Linked DNA regions of Homo sapiens: regions 1, 2, 3 and 4 are each linked to region 5. The links are contacts of gene promoters, found by promoter capture Hi-C in blood cells and fetal thymus (Javierre and others, 2016). All regions are on one chromosome and are shown on one strand. Each heading gives the region's core, a stretch centred on a gene start or on the middle of the fragment in contact. The rest is flanking DNA. Distances are from core to core; before and after follow the strand shown. Region 1 has its middle 16 kb from the start of ALG10B. Region 2 has its middle 76 kb from the start of ALG10B. Region 3 has its middle 1.7 kb from the start of ALG10B. Region 4 has its middle 59 kb from the start of ALG10B. Region 5 holds the start of CPNE8 (copine 8).

What was found. Contacts are between HindIII fragments. The CHiCAGO score rates a contact against its expected background, and 5 or more counts as called.
Region 1: a fragment that was not itself captured here is called in contact with the fragment with the promoter of CPNE8 in region 5 in 1 of 17 cell types (M2 macrophages); the score reaches 5.8 in M2 macrophages.
Region 2: a contact is called between a fragment that was not itself captured here and the fragment with the promoter of CPNE8 in region 5, in 4 of 17 cell types (M2 macrophages, monocytes, M1 macrophages and 1 more). The highest score is 22.8, in M2 macrophages.
Region 3: a fragment that was not itself captured here is called in contact with the fragment with the promoter of CPNE8 in region 5 in 2 of 17 cell types (M2 macrophages and monocytes); the score reaches 8.0 in M2 macrophages.
Region 4: a fragment that was not itself captured here is called in contact with the fragment with the promoter of CPNE8 in region 5 in 1 of 17 cell types (monocytes); the score reaches 5.5 in monocytes.

What each region holds. Positions count from the first base shown.
Region 1 is chr12:38,331,144-38,334,549 of GRCh38, reverse strand. No RefSeq gene overlaps it. Among named protein-coding and RNA genes, the nearest start is that of ALG10B, 16 kb to the right of the region's middle. The HindIII fragment of the contact is 3,308 bases long and covers 1-3,124 here.
Region 2 is chr12:38,391,215-38,394,575 of GRCh38, reverse strand. No RefSeq gene overlaps it. Among named protein-coding and RNA genes, the nearest start is that of ALG10B, 76 kb to the right of the region's middle. The HindIII fragment of the contact is 215 bases long and covers 1,675-1,889 here.
Region 3 is chr12:38,313,392-38,316,694 of GRCh38, reverse strand. It overlaps a transcript of ALG10B not described here. Among named protein-coding and RNA genes, the nearest start is that of ALG10B, 1.7 kb to the left of the region's middle. RefSeq lists an enhancer at 1-850. The HindIII fragment of the contact is 9,799 bases long and covers 1-3,303 here.
Region 4 is chr12:38,374,217-38,377,576 of GRCh38, reverse strand. No RefSeq gene overlaps it. Among named protein-coding and RNA genes, the nearest start is that of ALG10B, 59 kb to the right of the region's middle. The HindIII fragment of the contact is 8,931 bases long and covers 1-3,360 here.
Region 5 is chr12:38,903,468-38,907,102 of GRCh38, reverse strand. CPNE8 (copine 8) reads left to right here and starts at 1,512. Exons shown (of 20, transcript NM_153634.3): 1 at 1,512-1,666. The coding sequence starts at 1,569. CPNE8-AS1 (CPNE8 antisense RNA 1) reads right to left here and starts at 1,391. Exons shown (of 2, transcript XR_007063275.1): 1 at 106-1,391. RefSeq lists an enhancer at 1-227 and a silencer at 1,358-1,527. The HindIII fragment of the contact is 5,959 bases long and covers 1-3,347 here.

The DNA of each region.
Region 1 (3,406 bases), core at 221-2,720, 570 kb after region 5:
AGGAGTGCCACCTTGAGAGAAAATTTAAGACAATGCATTTTGAAAACAAAATTGGCATAAAGGGTTTCAATGTTGCTCATCACAGTTACCCCAACTAAAGGACATCACTGTAAATTTTTATAGTACAAGTGAAGAGATAAGCATGGTCTTTCAACTCAGATCCTATTATATTCTTCTGTCTTTTCATATCAGTATTCCACATGTATTTCATTCCAATGTGCCTCTTGGATATTATTTTAATGGAGAAAGGTATTCTTAGAGTCATTGGTATGTGAAGAAAGGATTTCTCTCTTTTTTTCTACTCTTTCTGGTGGTTCCTTTCTCTGTCTTCAGTCTTCCTACTTACTCTCTTCCTTCTTTTCCTAGCAATACCCCTAAAGTTCTCATGCTCATGATCCCCAGAAATACTTGTGCTTATGTGTGGGCAGGCAGTGTGTGGGTATGTGTGGGGGATATGGTTGGAGAGCTGGAGGGAATAGAATAAGACATTCTCATATGCTTTTATAATATTAATAACCAATTAGCTTTAATGTGTTACTTTTCCTTGCATTTCCTGCATTTTATGATACATTTCCCTGCATTTCAAAGAACAAAATTTATGACCAAGACATAGATTTCTAGATGTGGCTAAGTAAAAACTACTGACTTAGATCAAGATCATCCCCTCCCATGGTTCTCCACAGCCCAGGGCCTGTTTATACCTCTGAAACCTTACAATGTATTTGGCCCAAAGACCCAATGTATACATTAAACACACACACACACACACACACACACACACACACACACATACAGAGTGAAGATTCTAGGTCAAGCTAGGTTTCATCTAAATTTGATTTTTTCACTAGACCTTTAGAGAGTGATAGGGTTGCAAGGAAAATATAAAAATTACAAAGAATAGTACTTACTGAGAAAGACTGATAGGGTACCTGTTACAGGTCATGAAACGTTTCTCCTAAGACTGCATCTCTCCTCCTGGCTTCAAACCCTTTCAGATCAAATATTTTAGGGAGGTCTCCAAAACTCCTCATGTTTCTGATGGAGAGCAACCTTCTCTCTGGCTTCTGCATCACTTACAACAGGATCTACAGGAGAGTGGAGGGCCTGTCTCACAGAGCCATTCTACTGGTGCGAACTGAAACCTGGCTATCGAATCTAAATAACTATGTTTCTCTCCACACCAATTTATCTGTGGGTCTCTGCGTGGGACATATGCTTTCCTTGCTCCTCACTGTATACAGCAGAGCACTGTTCTTACTTTCTTCCTAAAAATAACCTCAGTTCTTTGGATGCACAGGCCATCAGATGATGCAAGTTTAGCAGGAATCAGTATAGCGCCCTGGTTAAGAGGGCATGTTCTGGAGCCGCATTTCCTGTTTGTAAACTATTTCAATTCCCTATGACTTATTTTCCTTGTCAGTAAAAATGGGGATCATAATAGCATTTGCCTTAGGGCATCTCTATGAGGCTTAAATAAATTCATGTTCAATATTTAGACTGGTGCCTGTCACATAGCACTGCATAAGTGTTGGCCACTGTCACCACCTGCTTCTCAGCCATATGGTTTGCATCACATTATTCTGCCTGAAATGCTTTCTGCAGTGTCTCCACAGGTTTCCATACAAATAATCTCCAGTGTGAATTTCTCCATGAAGTATGTCTTTGTCCCTTCAGTCAGATGTGATTTCTATTCTCATGTAAACACCCTAGCTCTTATATTCCTCCTCAGTGATAATCATATTGTACTTTGCATTAGTTAGCCCCCATTAGGCGAGTTCATCTTGTCTAGAGTAGGTCACTTTTGCGTTTCTTGATACCGTTTTTTTCACACAAGGTTCCCTCAAGTTGTCATTGCATTTAATAACAAATACTACGATAAACTTTGTTAGAGGACCATATTAGAAGGTGATATGGTTTGGCTGTGTCCTCAACCAAATCTCATCTTGAATTTTAGCTCCCATAATTCCCAGGTGTCATGGGAGGGACCCAGGGGGAGGTAACTAAATCATGGGGGCAGGTCTTTCCCATACTCACTCCTAGTAGTGAGTAAGTCTCACGAGAGCCAATTGTTTTATAAATGGGAGTTGTCCTGTGTAAGCATTCTCTTTGCCTGCCACCATGTAAAATGTGACTTTGCTCCTCCTTCACCTTCTGCCATGATTGTGAGGCCTCTGCAGCCATGTGGAACTGTGAGTTGATCAAACCTCTTTCCTTTATAAATTACCCAATCTCGGGTATGTCTTTATTGGCAGCATGAGAATGGGCTAATACAGAAGTCCATATTCCAAAAACTTACTGTTGCCACCTAAACTATTTTCAGGAATTCTCCCTTTTAGTTTCACAAAACCAAAAATAACACCCACAACTTCCTTATCTAATAAACAGAAAGACTACACATAACACATGTTAACTACAATCAAGACAAGGTTCTTAGGCAGGTCATGGTAGAGGAGCTTTTATTATATTAGCTTTCCAGTAGATTGACTCATTTAAAAAGGGAAAAAATCTTTTTGGAAACATTGAAGAGTAAACAAAAGAAGGCAGGAACTGGATGGACTCAGTTGAAAGATCTCACTGGGTGAGATCCATGTTTATATGGCTTTTCCCCCAGAGGGCACACCCTAGTTAGAAAGGTGCAGTATGATTGGTTTGAGGTGTGAAAGGATGGAACTCAGGACTGCTAGAGTAGCTGTAATTAGGAGAAATCTCAGAAAAGAGGGAGTCACAGAAGAAGGGAATCCCAAAATCTGTGTATAAGTCCTGGGCTGACCTCTGAGCTGCATATGATAAGAGAAACTCGAAGACACCCAATGGAAAGTAAGAGGTGGAAGTCTGCAAACACAGAGTAGGGACCACTTTCTTTTTTTTCACCACAAGACCCAAAGACTGGGGCTTGAACCCTGCCAAGTTAGATGTGTTTGGTAAATACTCTGAGCTTCCTACAGACCTAGCCTAAAAAAGAAACCCAAGCCCCAACAAGTTCAAGGTGATCAGCCAGTAATTTAACTGCTTTCTATTATTATGAGAATAAAAGGAAGATTATACAGACACCCAGGCTAGTTATGAGCACACATCACAGGTATTTAAAAAGATTTGGTTCTATTTTAAAATGACTAATAAAGCTTAGCATTAGGGAGGTGGTAGACAGGGGAAAATGGCTAACAGGACAGTGTGAGGGAAATACAAAGCTTCTAATACTTGGTTTAGGATAAGAAAATGTGTTAAATAGACACAACTCCCTCTCCCTCTCCCTCTCCCCACGGTCTCCCTCTCTCTCTCCCTCTTTCAATGGTCTCCCTCTGATGCCCAGCCGAAGCTGGACTGTACTGCTGCCATCTCTGCTCACTGCAACCTCCCTGCCCGATTCTCCTGCCTCAACCTTCCGAGTGCCTGCGATTGCAGGCGC
Region 2 (3,361 bases), core at 533-3,032, 510 kb after region 5:
TCACTCCTCCATCAAAAAACAAACAAAAAACTCACCCTATCAAAAAATAAACACTGGGTAATTCTCTCTCCCTTTCATGATCTTTCAGCAGCATATGGCAGGTTGATTCTTTTTTAAACTAGCTTTCTTCATGCTTCTATAACAGTTTATTGTTGTTGATTATTTTGTAGGTTACCTATTATCTGCCTACATTTTATTAATATTTCCCCAAAGCTCTTCCTGGCCCCATTCCTAACCTCCTGGAGTGATTTCATGAACTTCTTGTCACTTCTGTTGTAAGAGTATAGAGTACAAACTCTAGAATAAGATTTGCTGGTTTCAAATCCCAACTCTAGGCAAGTTAATCTTGACATGCATCAATTGCCTCTTCTGTGTAAGAGAAAACATAATAGTAACAATCTCAGGTTTGTTGTGAGGACAAAATTAAGATATGTAAATAGTTTTTAAAATTCCTAGTATATAATAAAATAACATAAATATTAGATCATATGGAAACCAGTACTTTTTATGTTGATAAAATTCATGTATCTATCTGTATTAGTCCATTTTCATGCTGCTGATAAAGCCACACCTGAGACTGGGAAGAAAGAGAGGTTTAATGAACTTACAGTTCCATGTAGCTGGGGAGGCCTCATAATCATGGCAGAAGGCAAGGAGGAGCAAGTCACATCTTATATGGATGGCAGCAGGCAAGAGTGACCTGGTTCAGGGGAACTCCTCTTTTTAAAACCATCAGATCTCATGAGACTTATTCACTATCACAAGAACAGCACAGGAAACACCTGCCCCCATGATTCAGTTACCTCCCACTGGGTCTCTCCCACAACACATGGGAATTCAAGATGAGATTTGGGTGGGGACACAGCCAAACCATACCACTCTATCCCAAAATTTATCTTCTGAGATTTTTTTCTTCTTTTATGATCATTCTATTTTTAATGCACAAATATAGTCTATATTTAAAACAACGTAATATAAGAATTATCTGCCTCAGCATTTAATATTTCTGTCAGCTATATGATGCATACTCCCAGTCAAAAATCAGAGATTCATAACTTCATTTTTAAATGGGTGAACAGTGTTCTCTTATGTGGTATACTGCACTTTAATTAATCTTCCACAGTTGGACATTTGTATTGTAATCCAGTGTATTTCTATAATAATACATTATTAATTTAAAAAGTATTTGTTGAATATTAACAGTTAGAAAATTGATAGACTAGAGAGCTATTCAATTTCTTACCATTCAAGTACATAGTTTGCAATTTAGACCTCAAAGACCAAGAATACTACTACAGTGGCAGCACACTTGTGTAGACTAAAGATATTGGTTGGGAGGCCAGCACTGCTATTGAAGATGTGCTTAAATGTCAAGCCCCCAACTGCCTTTGATCTTGGAATTACTTGTAGCCATTATTCCCTTCCTGCAAGACTACAACGTAAAGTGGGATACACAACAATTATTTTAGTTTGTTTTGGACAGCAAGGTACCTAGAAAGACAAGAATCGCCATAAAACATGAATGTTTCAAAGATCTGTGCAGACTTCTGGCAAGGACATTTCCTGTTTTCAAAGATGAACTGGTGAATCTGGTAAATAGAGAAATTCAAAGAAGATATTCATTACAACTTTCTAAATTAGGGTTTTGAGAGTTTCTAAGGCATGACAGAAGCTTGGAGTACTGAATTAGCCATGTTTCGTAAAGCAGGTACTGATATTTTTAAAGTAAGAATGCTAAGGTGACTCATTTTGTTGAGGCTGCAAGGCAGATACCTCAGCTAGAATGCCTTGGGCGATTGCAAAATCTCAATGGCAGTAGCAAGATACTGAACATGGCTTAACAGTTTCTAAATATGAGTCATTAAGCTAGTTCTTAAGTAATATAAGCTTGAATATACAGTTAACAGATCAACCCCTCCCCTTTCTTCCCCATCCTCAGCTTACTCAATAGGAAGACAAAAAGGATCAAGACGTTTATGATAATCCACTTGCACTTAATAAATAGTAAATATATTCTCTCTTTCTTACAACCTTCTTAGTAAATTTTGTAAAAATACAGCATATAATACATATAACATGCAAAATATATGTTAATCAACTGCTTATATTATCAGTGAGGCTTCCAGTCAACAGTAGGCTATTATAAAGTTTTTGAGGAATCGAAATTTATATGCAGATTTTCTACTGTGCAGGGCTCAACACACCTAACCCTAATTGTTCTAGGGTCAACTGCAATTACTTTTCTCCTTTGTAGATTGATTACTTGCCAGGCAACATATTGGCTCTGAGGATTGAAATGTAAATAAGACGTGGTCTGATGTCTCAGAACTCATGGTCTAACAGCAGATGTGGACATATAAACAATTAATAGTACTTTCCAATTAGAAAAAGAAAAATGGCATTTCAGAGCATAGGAATCATGTGCAGAAAAGCACAGTGCCAAGACCTTGTTATGACATATTTGGTAACTGAACAGACATGTTAGCCTTCTAGAAATGAAAATTAATAAAATCAAACAACTCTGAAAAAAAGGAATAACAATAAAGCCCTAACATTCTGTCTTTGACAATCCCCTCTCCTTGGGCAAGCACAAATCCTCAGTGAGAAGACAGTATTCAAAGTTATCTTCTTTCTGGAATACTTTATCAAATTATTATATTAGTATAATTCCTGGTAATCCCTCATATTGTAAGAATTATGTATTACTATGTGAAGACTTTTTTAAAAGTTTACAACATATATTTCCACTAAATTACTCATACTATAGTAATTTTGCCATTTGATTGTATATTTGGGCAACACTGAAAAGATTTGTGTCTCTATTGACTTTTGATAGGAAATGCTCGTACTGTGAGATGCATAGAACATTCCCCAACTTTTCACCTAACTCTCATTCATTCTTCATGTCTCTCCCTAAATGTGACTTTCCATAGCAAGCCTTCCCCGACCTCTTAGACTATTTTTACTCCCAGATTATACTCTTTTCATGTCATCATAAGAATCATACTTTACTGTAATTCTTCATGAGATTATTTTTCTCTCTCACTATGAAACTATAACCAGGGAGCCATACCCTTTTTACTTAACTTTGTACACCCAGAATCCATCACCTGCTTTCTCACATCAACTAAAACCATTAAGTGGTAGAGTCTGTTAATCAGCCATGGCCTTAGAAGTAGTTTTTCCTGAAATTAATGGCACATGACAGTAATATGGCCTATGTTGACACATATTTGAAGGATAGTAGAGTTTAAGCAGGACAGTCTCTTTTCTGGGAACACAGCAAAAACAAACCTGCATATTTGAATATCAAATTCAGTGTTCTTAGCTGAGCTAACCAGTCACAGAAAGGTCAGTCTTA
Region 3 (3,303 bases), core at 419-2,918, 590 kb after region 5:
ATAACGGACCGGATGATTACCCTCTCCATCACATTACTCGGGGCGCACAGTGTCAAAACTTCCGGAAAGGGCGGGTCTCGGATTTCGCGAGCGCGGGAGGGGCGTGGCTTGCTGCTTTGGAAAAAAAAAAAAGCCGCTTCTTAGCTTGGATCTTTTTTCCTGCTCATTTCCATCACTTACCAGAAGGTGGCGACGTTTCCCCACGTTTCCAATTCCAAGCCCTAAAATTAACACATTTTTTTCCCCCGTTATTTCTTTTCTTTCTCTCCAGTGATCCGAATTAATTAAACCCTCAATTCCAAGACATTTCATTCCATCAACCTTGGAGTGTAGGAAGGGGGCGTTGGTTGTGATAGCAAAGACTGAGACTTTCAGATGAAAACTTGAAGAACCAGAGACCCGTCAATGCCGAATGAACTTCAGTGAGAGGAGTGTTTGTTCGTTTGTTTGTTTGTTTAGGTTAAGAGAGAACTCTTTCAAAATGTGGATGCTCTCAGAGGATTTAGTAAAATTGACACTCCTAGTGCACTCTCATAGCCATATTACCCTGTAGGATTTGGAAGAAAATATATATTTTAGAATTTGGGATGTTTTAGGTGTGCCTGTAAATTAGGTTGTTAATATTTATAAGGCAGCCTTCTGTTTTTCCTACTAAATCATAAGCGTGAACATCTTAGTGGGTGGCATTATACATCCTTTATGTTTGTAGTCCCCCAAATGGCTTTCACACAGTAGGCACTTAAATTTGTGGACTTTTATAGGCTGTGTAGACATCATCAAATTCCTGTATTCTGGGATTAGGTGTTGGGGGCAGGAGATGTGGTAAATAATTTGAAGAATGCCGAAGATAAATTATGTGTTGGAATTTTGTCTTGAGCATGGTTGGCCATGTTTTGTAGAAAAACTTTCTCTCAGGTAACCTCAGTCAGGTTGCCTTTGGCAGGCATATATCAGATTGAGTCGGGATTTAAGGTTGCAAACCTCAGAGTTCTCAATTGAGCTCTTTTTCTGGGTTAAAAATAATTCAGTATTTCTGAACTTAAGAAAGTTTCTTAAATCAAGCTGACTGCCTTTCCAGTCTGTCTCTGCCTGTTTCCTCAATGATAAGAGGAGGTAGTGGTGAATGAGGGCTGGGACGGGAATATTTACATTACTGGAATAAAATCATGTCAGGATTCTACTCTGATGTGATGCTTAGCTTTGCTTTAACCATCATCTCCCATTTTATTATTGATTCCATGCTGTACTTATCTGTTTAAGTCACTTGTAACACATCTCCAGATGATTCAGTCTTCAAGAGGTTGATGTGATCTACGAGTAATTAGCCCCTGACCTATTGACCTGCTAAATCGTGTTATATATACTCTGCAGCTTACTGACCCACCCTAGAAATAGTGGGCCGTTTTTAAAGGGAGTAGAACAAGACTAGACATTTATGCTCTCCATTTTTCTTCATAACAATTGCCACCAATAGTTTATGTTAAACATTTGACTCCTATACATGCTGCACACATCGCTTTACATAAAATGGAAAGTTTCAAGGAAATATAGGGTTTTAGGATGGCTAGGGATCTTTATTAATAATCTACTTGACTTCATTTTATAAAAGAAGCTGATTTTTAAAAAATGAATAATTTACCTAAAATTACATAAAAAATTAGTGTCAGAACCAAGTGTAGGAATTAGAACATCAGACCAAGAGTAATAAAATAACTTCACAGCCTTATAGGTTAAAATAATCTACAATATATACTGAATTGAATGTTTCACTAGTCCCAATAACTTTACATTTACATTCCACTATTCTCTGTTTCCATACACCAATTTGAAATACAAGTTTCATCTTTTAAAAAAATGTTCGTCTTACAGACTAATTACATCAAAATCTGCTGGGGGATCATTGTGAAAAACTAGATTCTAGAGAGCCATCTCAAATCACTGAATACTGATCTTCATATTTGGAAACGATTGATGTAAAACATATTACCTAAGAATGCTAAGAAGCTCCATGGGCCCAGTAGAGTTCTTCATAGAGTACTTCACTCATTTGTTAGTGAGTTACTTTTACTATCTGCAAATCGATGAAGCTGTTGTCACTTTTCTACTCTTAGATTACAGCATCTTTGATAATCTTGAAATGCTTTCCAAAGCTCTGCTCCTAAATCAAGACCTAGTAAAATAGCTACCTCTGGGGTTTTAATGAAATAGACTACATTTTATTAGACCTATCATTTAAAACTAGATCAGCATTGATTTCAACTTATATTTTCCATTCAGAATTCCAACTGCCATTTTCCATAGATGTTTGTGAAAAAGAGTCATTAGGATGAGCAATCCCATTATAATTGCACATCAACTATTTATTTGTGCTACTTGAATTATGATAAATAAGTTACGGCAGAAAAATGGGCAATTTCTGTTGGGGTTCTAAGGATAGGTTGTTTTAGCAAGAAATACATCTTTTTTGGTTTATAAGCCATTAAGATTTTGACTTTATTTCTCTGGTATAACCTAGCTGACTTTGATCAATTAAGACATTCCTAATTTGATGAACTCAGACAACATAGCATATACTTAACTGTTTGAAACAGCCATATCTGAACAGTGAATTTCCCCAAAGGCTGTAACTGTAATAACTTTGAAGTATTAGTCCAAGAAACACCCTGCCTCTTATTGCACCCCTTTTCACTTGTTGCTGAATGAAAACATTGGCCACTTGCTAATCAGAGTGACGGTTTACTCCTTTCTAGGTGACAATTCGTTCTAGCTACAGCAGAGTACTGCACCCTGGGCCAAAAATCACAGATGATAACCTCTAAAATGCAACTCTACCCTTGAGGTCAATCTTAACATATCAATTTAAAATCTAAATTTTAAAATTAATGAATCAATTAAAAAAACACACAACATTTTAGTACAAAAGCATTAGCAAGTATTTTAGCTCTACTGAAAATGTCTTGAAGACATTGTATAGGGGACTGGTTAAACCTAAGTAACACACACACGGAGAGACCCTTCTAAAAAACAGTAATATTTATTTGGTGAGAATACAATGAACATAGGGAGGTAAAAGAAGACAAGGGATTTTAAAAGAAAAATGAAGAGGGTTACATAAATTGCTTTGAGACAATTATCCTTGGTTACAAGGACTGGTAGAAAGGGTGGCACCAGTTTGAGGTTGGACAGGCAGTTGCTGGGCAAATGTCCTCACAGAAGTAATTTTTTGTGAGATTGTGGTGGCCTTTGTGCAAAGTTGTGGTTTGTGCAGTCTTTTGTCGTAGTTCCTGTTGTCAGGCATACACG
Region 4 (3,360 bases), core at 46-2,545, 530 kb after region 5:
AGACTAAGCAAAAAGAATAAATCTGGAGGCATTACACTACCTGATTTCAAAATATACTGTAAGGCCATAGTCACCAAAACAGCATGGTACTTGTATAAAAATAGGCACATAGACCAATGTAACAGAATAGCAAACCCAGAAATAAACCCAAACACTTACAGCCAGTTGATCTCCAACAAATCAAACACAAACATAAAGTGGGGAAAAGACACTCTTTTCAACAAATGGTGCTGGGATAATTGGCTATCGACATTTAGGAGAATGAAATTGGATCCTCATTTCTCACCTTATACAACAATCAACTCAAGATGGATTAAAGAATTAAACCTAAGTCCTGAAATTATAAAAATTCTAGAAGATAACATTGGAAAAACCCTTCTAGACATTGACTGAGGCAAAGATTCCATGACCAAGAATCCAGAAGCAATGCAACAAAAACAAAGATAAATAGCTGGGACCTAATTAAAGAGCTTTTGTACAGCAAAAGGAACAGTCAGCAGAATAAACAGACAACCACAGAGTGGGAGAAAATCTTCACAATCTATACATCTGACAAAGGACTAATATCCAGAATCTACAGCGAACTGAAACAAATCAGGAGGATAAAAACAAACAATTCCATCAAAAAGTGGGCTAAGGACATAAATAGACAATTCTCAAAAGAAGATTTACAAATGGCCAATAAACATATGAAAAAATGCTCAACATCACTAATGATCAGGGAAATGCAAATCAAAACTACAATGCAATACCACCTCACTCCTGCAAGAATGGCCGTAATCAAAAATTCAAAAAACAGTAGACGTTGGCATGGATGTGGTGAACAGGCAACACTTTTACACTGCTGGTAGGAATGTAAACTAGTACAGCCACTTTGGAAAACAGTGGGGAGATTCCTTAAAGAACTAAAAGTAGAACTACCATTTGATACAGCAATCCCACTCCTGGGTATCTACCCAGAGGAAAAGAAGTCATTATTCGAAAAAGATACTTGCACACACGTTTTTAGCAGCACAATTTACAATTGCAAAATCATGGAACCAACCCAAATGCCCATCAATCAATGAGTGGATAAAGAATCTGTTATATATATTACATATATATAGCGGAATAATATGCAGTCATAAGAAGGAATGAATTAACAGCATTTGCAGACCTTGATGAGACCAGAGGCTATTATTCTAAGGGAAGTAACTCAGGAATGGAAAACCAAACATTGTATGTTCTCACTGATATGTGAAAGCTAAGCTATGAGGATGCAAAGGCATAAGAATGATAAAATGGACTTTGAAGACTTGGGGGTAAGAGTGGTATTGGGGCGAGGGATAAAAGACTACAAATAGGGTACAGTGTTTGCTGCTCAGGTGATGGGTGCACCAAAATCTCACAATCACCACTAAAGAACTTACTCATACAACCAAATACCACCTGTATCCCAATAACTTGTGCAAAAATAAAAAAATTAAAAAAATAAAGTATAATTCCAACTTCTTTATTTTTTTTTAATGTGGCTCTCCAGTTATCCCAGGACAATGTCACCCCTTTCAAAATCAATTGACCACAAATGTGGTGGTATATTTCTGGATTTTCAACTCTATTTCATTCATACATTTGTCTCTTCTCATACCAATACCACACTGGCTTGATTACTATAGCATTATAGTAAATTCTAAAATCAAAAATTATAAATCCTTCACATTTCTTTTTCTTTTTAAATACTGTTTTGGCTAAGCCCCTTGAATTTTCTTCTAAGCCCCTTGACTTTTCATGAATTTTAGGATCAGCTTACCAATTTATTCAAAAACGGTAGCTGAGATTTTTAAAGGAACTGTGTTTTTTTGTAGTTTTATTACCACAGTCTCACACAGCAATTTAAGCTACCTCTCATACTTAACACAATTCGTTTTGAAGTATAGTTGTTTATATTATAGTGTTATCTCTTTTTCTGGATTGTAAACTTCATGACAGTGGAAGCTGTATCTTATTCTTTAATTTCCTGAAAAGTCTTAAAAAATATTTGCAAAAACCAGATACTTGAAAATACTTAGCTTGTAGAAAATTTTTAAACTAGAACAGGCTGAAATCTAGTTAATAAGATATTTTTGGTCTTCTTCAAAGTGGATTTACATATATCCATTGTCAATTTGATCAATTACTGTCAAATAAGGACATGACCAGTTGGTTTTACAATATATGTATGATAGACTTGGGAATACCATTCTCCACTTTCTATCTCTATGCTTGTAAGTTTCACTTTGAGTACAAGGCTTGTTCGTAGCTGCTATTTTATTTTAGTCATTTAATCAGTCTTTGCTTTCTGGCCAACGTGGCTTAACCATGCCCCTCCCAACCAAAGAAAACAAAACAAAAAAACATGGAAGTACACATATTAGTTTTTTTTTTTCCCCAGGAGTTCACAGAAATTTCAGTAAATGAATATAAGCATAATTTAAAATGGTTTAAAAATAGAAATATGCTGGTGGTTGAGTGTGGGTCATGATTCATCAACTATTCATAAATAGCAGGAAAATAATAGTTACTCTGTTCATGCCATCTTGGCTAATGAAGAAAAAAAACAAAACACTTCTATATGTAGCACTTTTCCAGCCAAAAATAAATGGGTATCACTTTCAGGTTTTAATTGCCACATCTGTTTTTCCATGTAGTCATGGCATTAACACAATGGGACATGTCTTAATGATTAGTAGACATAATATGCATTATTTTCAGCTCACAGAAAAATCTTGCCAAGAGACTCCCATACATGGAATAAAGGTACAGGGAGTTTTCCAAATTGTAACCAATGCTAGTTCATCTATACCATGGTTAACAATGAATTACTTGACACATCTCTAATTAAAACACCAGAGTGGTGTTTCTAGTCAATAGGAATCACAGTGTGATCAGTGTGAACACATGCTTGCCAAGTTTCTGATTATTGTATGGCAGTACACACCCAGATGGTGTAGAGTTCTTTATATTTGATCCTCTGACACTTAAAATTGACACATGCCTGACTAGCTGTTCACTGTGGTAATGTATGCAATTCCCTGTTTTCTACTTGTATATCCTGAACCACCTACTAAAAATTATTTTTTTGTAAGTTAAGCAATTATTCTGATCTGCATAATTGCATACTCTCCAAGTCCATTATCCACAAATTGCATTCTATAGTTTTATATAAGTATGTCTCCAATTATTTACAAGTAAAAGATGATTTATAATGGAATAGATATGCCAACAGATGTGGCTAAATATACAAACAATCCAACTCAATTTGTAACCAACATACATACAATAGTCACTGCATACTTCTTGACTTCTTGATAGAGACAGACATTATTTTTAGATCAGTGTTCA
Region 5 (3,635 bases), core at 263-2,762:
AGAAGAAAAAGCGGTGGGTGGGGAAATCAGGAAAGGAAAGCAAGAAGAAACAGGGGAAGTACACTCGGCAGGGGAATCGGCAAGACTGCACCTACACACTCTCACCCGCCTCTATAGATTCTCTAGGCAGGAGGCTGCAAGTGGATTAAAATGTTACAACGCAAGGCAAGTCCTCCACCGCAAAAACTGCTCCTCCCAGACTTAGCCCAACCAGCTGGAAACTCCGTGCTTGGAGCGTTAAATCGGACGGACACCCGCCCCCTCTCCACCCTCTGCCTTCCAGCTGCGCCGCATCCTGTTCTCCGTCGCCGCCTGGTGGCGAGCTCCCGGGACCCGCAGGCGCTCGGGTGAGGCAGGAGGGAAGGCGCGGGGAACAAAGGTCCCTGCAGTGGAGGGGCGCCTCGTCTACCTCCGGATGCTTTTGCCACGACTCCGTCTTGGCACCAGTCTTGCTGCCCTGGAATGCAGTTTCCCAAACGCAGCGCTCACTCTGACTCCTCTCTGCTTTTATCCGTCAGGTCTCAGTTCTTGCGGGTGGGAGTCGGCTGAAGGAGCTGCGTTATATGGTTGTGACATCACCCTCCCCGGCCCCCATTTTCAGGTCAGAACTTTCATGCCTTTGGAAACGAGGGACCCAGAAGAGCCCTTACTGTAGGAGGAATGTCGCCGTTAGACCTCTAAGCTCCGAAGAACCAAGGGGAGACAGAATCCAGATTGCTTCCTTAAATCCCAAGTAGTATTGTTTTTTCCACCTTAGAGTCCGCCCCCCCGCCCCCACTTGTCCCATATATTGATCGGCCACTTTGCCACCGTGTTCCAAGGTTGGAGAGCGTCACAATGCCCCACCGTCCCCAACTCTCAAGTGGCCGACAGTGGGCAGTCCAGAAGCTGGGACCAGACTCATCTGCCCGAGGGCACAGTAGGAGGGACGGAGGGATCTCCCAAGAGCTCCGAGGGCGAGGTGAGAACCAATTGTGGGGAGGGGGACCTTATAACGGGGCAGTTAGGAACGGGCAGAGGTGCCCCCACCTCCAGCTTTCAACTCAGGCGAGGAAACTTCGAGACCTTCCCGTCCACACCTGATTGACAGAAGGAAGCTGTCGCGGCCCAGGAGGCGAGTGTGGGTGTGCAGAGGTGGAGACAAAACCTAAAAGCACGCAGAGCCGGCGAGGGCTTGCGGTCCTGGACGGTAGGGGTCTGCGTCTGGTGCCACCTTCTCCATCAGGCTGCTTGCTGGGTCCACCAAGCCTGACCCCTCCAGCCAGGAGGGGATCACGGAGTGTGTCCCCCGCCCGGGCTGCTGCCTGCCGGAAGGGGGCTGGGAAACCGGGATCCCCGCGCGCCACTTGCCTGGCAGCGTCAGTTTCACCCAGGACTGGCTAGCGGTTCCCTCGTGGCTCTGCGCGGAGGTCCGCCTCCTCCCTTCCCTCCCCCATCCCGCGCGCTGCCTCCGCCTCCTTCTTCTGCCTCCACCCTCAACCCCCATCCCCGCCTGACGGGAGCTAGCCCTCAGTCCGCCCGAGCTGTGGTTGTGGGCGCCGGACAAGTCCAAGGCGCCTCCTCCCAATATGGACAGCCGCTACAACAGCACTGCGGGCATCGGGGACTTGAACCAGCTGAGCGCTGCCATCCCGGCCACGCGGGTGGAGGTGTCCGTGTCCTGCAGGTGAGGACGCAGCCCTTCCCCTCTCTCCTGCCCTCTCATCTGTGGGGTTGGTAGCACTTGGAGAGCGCTCGGGGTACCACGAGGCTTTGCGCAGGCAAGAAGTTGCGCCATGAGTGGGAAATATCTCAGTAGTGGGGCTGGAGTTACCCCGGGTCAGGTGACACAGGGGAGCGGGAATTAGAAGCGGTGGGCTCCGGGACTGAGACTTTGTATTTTCTTTCTGGGAAACGCTGTAAAAGTTGGCTGGGCTGTGACTCAGCTGTGGGAACACCGGCCGCCGCCCACTTTACAAGCCGGTTTTCCGCCCCAAACCCGGGCTGGATGGTTGGGTGATGACCGGAATCGAAGGGGACAGCACTGCCAAAAGCTCTTGTGACCGCTGCACGCTTAGGCCCGGGACTTCCTCTGCTAGGCGTGTGCAAACCTGCTGTTGCTAGGGTTGGCTCCAACCCCGGCAGCTTCCTCCCCACCCACTTCCTGGAGCCTTCCAGCTTGCTTCTCCCCGACCCTTCCGGGCTTTTTGCCTTTTGCCTGATAGGTAGAGATTTCGGCCCTCCTTGCAGACGAATCTATGCCTTACCTAAGATCTGGGAAGTCACGACTTTTGTTTTGATTTGTTTTCGGGCCCACATCTGAGTGCTTGTAAAAACTGACTCTCGGCCGGGCGCAGTGGCTCAGTACAGTTTATACGCCTGTATTCCCAGCACTTTGGGAGGCCAAGGCGGGTGGATCACGAGGTCAGGAGTTCGAGACCAGCCTGGCCAATATGGTGAAACTCCGTCTCTACTAAAAATGCAAAAATTAGCCGGACGTGGTGGCACGCGCCTGTAGTCCCAGCTACTCGGGAGACTGAGACAGGAGAATCGCTTGAACCCGGGATGTGGATGTTGCAATGAGCTGAGATCTTGCCATTGCACTCCAGCCTGGGCGACAGCGCAAGACTCCATCTCAAAAAAAAAAAAAAAACAAAAAAAAACTGACTTTCAACCCTGTCCAGAGACTGTAAATTGCAAACTCGTTGTCCTGACCTTTCGGTTAGTTGCCCTGTAAATAAAGCAGCATCACCGCTATATCATAGATGATTTTGAGAAGGAGATGAGCGATGGTGCTAAATTGGTACTGGCCACTAATTTGCGAATTAATATTGACCCTGGAGCCCACTCCCTTGTTTGCATAATTGGGTCTGTCTCACTGGAAAACTGGCTCCTCATTTATCCATTTTTGCCCTAAGATTGTTTTTATGCCCTCACATCCTCCCTTTCCTTTCCTTAGCAAACTTGCCTTGAAGATATCTAACAAATTTGGGTGATCTTGATGTAAATAAGTTTAAAATTCCATCAATCTTGACTTTGCATTTTCACAAACTGAGCCTAAAGCCAAAGGAATTCTTTTCTGGGGGTGAAAATTCGAGCACCAGCAACCGTAGTAGAAGTATTATTTGAGGGTAGGGGACAGCCTTTATCTAGCCCTGAAACTATATCACCTGATTGTTTGCCGCCTCTTAAGACTGATCTGGGACTATGGAAATAATCATGCTGATAATGATAGCTATCATTAAGCTCTTGCCTCATTGCTGTCACTGCTTTAAGTGCTGCCTGAGATTTTTCTGTCAATGGAACAGGTGAAGCTGTTTGGAAAACTCTTTAGAGGATTCCTAGGCCTTTTTCTTTTCTCTGAAGCTTGCTTTCGATGTTAGAGGGAAGTTACTGGTATATACAGATAATGGATAGCCGGAAGTCCTACAATAACAGCATTACTAGAGTTCTTATCCTCTGCTCAACAGTCTGCAAAGTCTGAATGGCATGTGGCCTATACTTGGAATGAATATAAAAGAATATTGTCAATCAAGTCTGAATTTTTCCATGAGCTTTTTAAGGGAAATTATACCTAAACTGGTCATTCTGCCAGTAGGGCCCATGTTTAATGCAGCCCCTTTTTTGATGCATGTTTTCTGTGAGTGTGCTGGGCA